Regions from separate parts of the Homo sapiens genome. Here region 1 is linked to region 2. The links are contacts of gene promoters, found by promoter capture Hi-C in human tissues and cell types (Jung and others, 2019). All regions are on one chromosome and are shown on one strand. Each heading gives the region's core, a stretch centred on a gene start or on the middle of the fragment in contact. The rest is flanking DNA. Distances are from core to core; before and after follow the strand shown. Region 1 holds the start of DBT (dihydrolipoamide branched chain transacylase E2). Region 2 has its middle 8.3 kb from the start of AGL.

What was found. Contacts are between HindIII fragments. The study calls those that stand out against the background at their distance.
Region 1: a contact is called between the fragment with the promoter of DBT here and a fragment that was not itself captured in region 2, in 1 of the 25 tissues and cell types used here (hippocampus).

Annotation. Positions count from the first base shown.
Region 1 is chr1:100,248,326-100,251,204 of GRCh38, forward strand. DBT (dihydrolipoamide branched chain transacylase E2) reads right to left here and starts at 1,509. Exons shown (of 11, transcript NM_001918.5): 1 at 1,445-1,509. The coding sequence starts at 1,495. RefSeq lists enhancers at 678-1,237, 1,238-1,797, 1,399-1,518 and a silencer at 1,629-1,728. The HindIII fragment of the contact is 17,632 bases long and covers 1-2,879 here.
Region 2 is chr1:99,840,599-99,843,446 of GRCh38, forward strand. It overlaps the pseudogene RPL39P9. Among named protein-coding and RNA genes, the nearest start is that of AGL, 8.3 kb to the right of the region's middle. The HindIII fragment of the contact is 7,409 bases long and covers 1-2,848 here.

The DNA of each region.
Region 1 (2,879 bases), core at 259-2,758, 410 kb after region 2:
TGACATCTAATTGGGGATGCTCTGTATGCATGGATACTTAATTTCCTATTTATTGGTTGGGTTTTTAATTGCAGCTGGAAAACATCACGTACATATGAAACTGGAGATTTCCAGGACAGTAGGATATATGGGTTTGGAGTAGACCTGGTTGGAAGACTGGGGAACTTTAGGACTCATCAGCATAGATGGTAACTAAAGCCAAAGAGTGGATGGGATAACCCAGAAAGTGGGAAAAGTGCAGAGGGCCAAAGTCAGAGCCCTTTAGAAAAAGCAATATTTAAAAGGCGGGAAGGGAAACAGGATATTGGGATGAAGTGGCCAAAGATGAAGAAAGAATAATATTGGGAAACTGGTGTCACAGAAAACAAGAATGGAAAGCTCTAGAAAGAAGAGAGACCAATATGTGTTAAGTGTTGCTGAGAAGAGCTCTCTTCTCCTGGTTATCTCTTACTTATCCTTCTTACATCTCAAGTCATACAGTATCCTCTGGGAACTCCTCTGACCCCCAAGTCCACCATAGGTGTCCACTCCTGTGTGTTCCTGTAGTTCTAGGCACTTGTCCCATCACAGTACCTCTCATGCTGGGTTGTAATTTCTATCTGTCTCCCTCTCCTTTGTCCTCCACCACAAGGTTGTAATCTCTTGAGAAGGAAGATATGATGTCTATTTCATATTTGTATCTCCAGTGCCTAACACAGCACTGGTACATAGCAGGCTCTTGAAAGTTTTTGTAAGATCGGGGTCACCAAGGCAGGAGCATCTAGGGAAAGGGAGAAGAGGCAGGAAGAAGAAACACTAAGCAAATAGGGGTAACAAGTATCATTACCGGTATGTGTCAGTGCTTGGTGCTAAGACTGGGAGAAAGAGAAGGAAGTGCAGGGGAGATGGTGATGGGTCACAGCCTTGGTGACAAAAGGGTAGGAATGATATGTGGTGCGGACATAGAAGTACAAGGCAAAAGAGTGACGCCGAGCTGCTCAGTTCTTCGGAAGCAGGGACCCCTGCTGATATTCTATAACTTGAACGGCCTCTTCCTCTACACACTGTAGATTCCTTGAGGGTAGGGGTCGTGTTACCAGTGTTTGGCATACTGTGGGTACGCAATAAATGCTAAACGAATATATCTCTGGATCCACAGCGCCTATCACAATGCCTGGGCACCTGGAAGGCGCTCAATAAAACGCTAGCTGGGCCTCGGGGTACAGATGGAGCAGGACGGCTGAGTCGCTGCAGAAGCGCTTCCAGGTAAGGGGAGGGAGTGGGTTTCCACTCCAGACTGGTCGACTCGCTCCGTTCTCTGCCCTTTATTTTGCATGCATCCCTTCACCTCTCCATCACGCGTGCCCTGGACGCCTGGCACCGGAGGAGAAAGTAAAACACCACTCCTGGATGACTCCGGACAAATCACTCCTTCCCGGCCTCAGATCTGCCCAAACGTGCTTACCAGCTTCCCCGCATTCCTGCTCCAGGTTCTCAGCATACGGACTGCAGCCATCTTACCCCGGAAATGACAACAGTGCCGCAAACTGGAGAGACTCTCCTCGGCGCGGCCTATCAGGAGATGGGAAACGCGCCTCCCCCTGGGCGACCAATAGGGAGGGAAGAAACGAGCCTCCCACCCAACAGCCAACCAAGGAGTAGGGCGGAGCCTGAGCTAAACCCTAGGATCTGGGACCCAGCGGGGAGTGAAAAGAGCCTGGGGGACGGAGGCGGGGCAGAGGGCAGCCCAAATTTAACACTGCTGTGTAAATACAGATGCACCAAAGATAATCTTTTTAGTGTATGTGATGGGGAAAATAGAGAGTGTTAAGGAAACACAAAGAAAGGTACTTACCTCAAGAAAGTTATGTTGCAGTAGGACCTGAGCGATGAGTTGGAAAACATTTCCCCGTCTTCATCTTGTAGTGTAGCCGCCCCAAATACAGAAAATAGAATATTTCTATACGTTGTAGCAAGGCTCTGGACAACTAGTTGTTTCACAAGTCCATACAGCAGTACTTCCCAATGACTGCCTTTTTTACTCCCATTTATGTTTTTGATTACCAAAATTGGCTAATCAATTTTTTTCATGAAAGATGAACATTACCTAATGTCTAAAATAAACATGTTATCATCTTTCTTTTTACAGACTGCTATCAGATGCAGCTAACTAGCATATGCAATACATGTCACAGACACATGATCTTGATTTAGTTGTCTCTTAAAGAAATGTCAAATTCAGGTCAAGTGGAACTGGTAAAGAACAGATCAGAGCTTTCTTTTAAAAGGCAATCTTCCTCAGAGCAACTAGGAAACCAATTCCTGGAAATGTCCAGGATGACATTAGTCTGTTATTGCTTCTTACGTGGGAATGAAAATCTGCACAGATGTCTAAGGAATTACAGAGAAAAAAAACTGGAACAAATACATTTTAAATGCTCAACATTGAAGATTAGTGGTTATGAAACAAAATCTCAGGTATTTCACAACTTCATTGTTTAATATGACCCAAACACTTTTCCCCCTCATTTGCCATTTTATGTATTACACATCTACACACAAAAAATCAATGCAAACAATAAATCTTATTATCTTTTTTGTTTGTTTGTTTGTTTGGTAGAGATAGGGTCTCTTGGGCCAGGCGTGGTGGCTCCTGCCCATAATTCCAGCACTTTGGGAGGCTGAGGCAGGCAAATGGCTTGAGCTCAGAAGTTCAAGATGGGATCTCTCTATGTTGCCCAGGCTGGTCTCAAAGTCCTGGTCTCAAACTGCGATCTTCCCATTTCAGCCTCCCAAAGTCCTAGGATTACAGGCATGAGCCACTGGGTCCGGCCTAAATAGCTATCTTTCTCAGAAAATCTAGAGTAGTCAAAAGAATTTCAAGTTTTTACATTTCCTTA
Region 2 (2,848 bases), core at 242-2,741:
TGATTGTGAGGCCTCCCCAGCCACATGGAACTGTAAGTCCATTAAACCTCTTTCCTGTATAAATTACCCAGTCACGGGTATGTCTTTGTCAGCAGTGTGAAAACAAACTAATACACTCATGTTCCTAATAGCATTATTCATAAGAGCCAAGAGCAAACCACATGTCCATTAACAGATGACTAAATGTGTGTGTACACAAAATGGAATACTAGACAGCCTTAAAAAAGTAATCCTAGGCCAGGCATGGTGGCTCATGCCTGTAATCCCAGCACTTTGAGAGGCCCAGGTAGGTGGGAGGATTGCTGGAGTCCAGGAGTTCGAGACAGGCCTGGGCAACATTATGAGAACTCGTCTCAACAAGATAAATAGATAAAAATAAACAAAATTAGCTAGGCATGGTGGCATGAGCCTATAGTCCCAGCTATTCGGGAGGCTGAGATGGGAGGATCACTTGAGCCTGGAAGGATGAGGCTTCAGTGAGTCAAAATCATGCCACTGCACTCCACCGTAGGCAACAAAGTGAGATCCTGTCAAAAAAAAAAAAGAAAGAAAGAGAAAAGAAATACTATCACATGCTACAACATGGATGAACCTCAATATTTTGCTAAGTGAAATAAATCAGTAACAAAAACTACTGTATGGTTTTATTATATGAGGTACCTAGAGTCATCAACATCATAGAGACAGAAAGGAGTAGCTGCCAGGAATTTGGAAGGGGGGAATGGTGCATTATTGTTTCTGATATAATGAAGTTAGTATTTCTAAAGATATTAATGTACTTTCTTATTTGCCTTTGCAATATGCAAGACTTTCTCCATTCAGCCTAAGACACCCATCTGCCTCTGTAGGAGATTTGGATTGTAATAGAATAAATGCATAGAGGAAGGAGAGGTGATGTTTAACACCTGACATTCAAAATAGGATTTTGCAGCAAGACTATGGGCAGTTTGAGAAACAAAAAAATTTCTAAGGGAAACCCATTCTCTTAAGAAAGGGTTTGAAAGATTGTAAAGATGAGAAAACCTAAAGAAAAGAGGAGGCGAAGGAAACGGTCTGATGTATCATGATAGAAGCAAGTCCAATAGGTTGAGGGGATTACTAGATTATAAATTCCATGCAGGCAAGGATTTTTGTGTGTTTTGTTCATTACTGTATCCCCAGTGCATAGAACAGTGCTTAGTACACAGCAAACACAGTGTTTACTGAATGCACACAGGGCTTTTTGTTCTGCTCCCTGTTCTGAACTCTGGTTGTAGAATGCTATACTAGGCAAAAAGGGTGCGGGGGTTGGGGGGGGTCCAAAAAGAGGGATCCTAGAATGATTAAGAGGGTAAAGCAAGATCACTTACATATAGGACCTGGGTTTCAGCTCCAGTACACATTTTATAGATCCACCATGACAGAGTTGAGGTGATTCCAGCAAAGCCTTATCAAATGGATGTCTTGGGCCTTGGACCAGGCAGAGAACATTTTAGGTACTCAGAGAGGGGTCTGTAGTGAAAGTAGGATCAAGAAAGGCTGAGACAGTAGGGGAGGAGGATGCCTTTAGACTCTGGCCAAGCCAAGAAAGAATAGACAGGAAGTTATCAGCTACAGACATCAATAGTTTGTGCCAACAGGATTACCAGGAACAGGACTAGACAGATACACATTAGGTGATGCCAGCCCCTGCACAAGAACCAGTTCAAGGTCACAGAGTTCAACTCCCCCAGTGCAACCAGTTCATGTGAGATCCTGCTCCTTATACTAGACATCTCTTAGAACAAAGTAGAGAGAGAAAGGGGCGTCGAAACAATAGAACAATGATTTCAAAGAGACTGGGTTAAAGAGATTATTTAAATAATTGGCTCAGAATTAGTTTCCAACCAGATTAGACTAAAATTATTTTTGTTTTCCCACACCTGCCTAGCAGTTAGGAAACGGTAAAGGAAATTGGAGAAGCTTTTAAGAATAAAATATACTCTCTTCCTTTCTCTGCCATCGAGGTGTGTGCTTGACTCTGCTTCTTGCCATGTCTTCTCACAAGACTTTCAGGATTAAGCATTTCGTGGTCAAGAAACAAAAGCAAAATCATCCCATCCCCCAGTGGATCCAGATGAAAACTGGTAATAAAATCAGGTAGAACTCCAAAAGGAGACATTGGAGAAGAATCAAGCTGGGTCTGTACGGAATTACACATGAGATGGCACACATATTTATGCTGTGTCAAGGTCACAACCATCTTACCATATCAAGCTGAAAATGTCACCACTATCTGGACAGTTGGACATGTTTTATTGTGAATATATATTTTTTTCTCTGTGTATGTGCTGTTGGTGCACTGGTAGGCTGGATTCAGTAATAAATATGTGAGACCTTTCATTTCAAACAAACAAAAAGAATAAAATATACGTTTCTTAATATATCTAAGTAGTGTAAATAATTTTGTAATTCTGTTTTCCAGAGACAGAAAACGCAGCCCTGTCTGAAGAAATCTAGTGGGATAATGAGTTATTACACAACATGGCACAACATAGCCACAGCAAAGGAGCTCCAGGGAGCACCTAACCTAGACCCATGGGAGGGAGGGCACGGCAGGCAGAGACTTCTTGAAGGAGATATCTAAGATGATAGAGTCTTAGATTAGCGAGAATATCCTAGAATCAAGAAAACAGACTCACTGTTGGCATAGCCATATATGAAGCCAACAACATTCCAATTCAATTTATAAAATCTTATTGATTACCAGGCCATGGACGTAGCATCACTGCCTCAGATGTAGCATTACCGAACAGAATCACTGAGCATGCAATTGAAGTCACATTCCTTCACTTGCTCACTATGTGATCTTAAACAAGTTACTTAACTT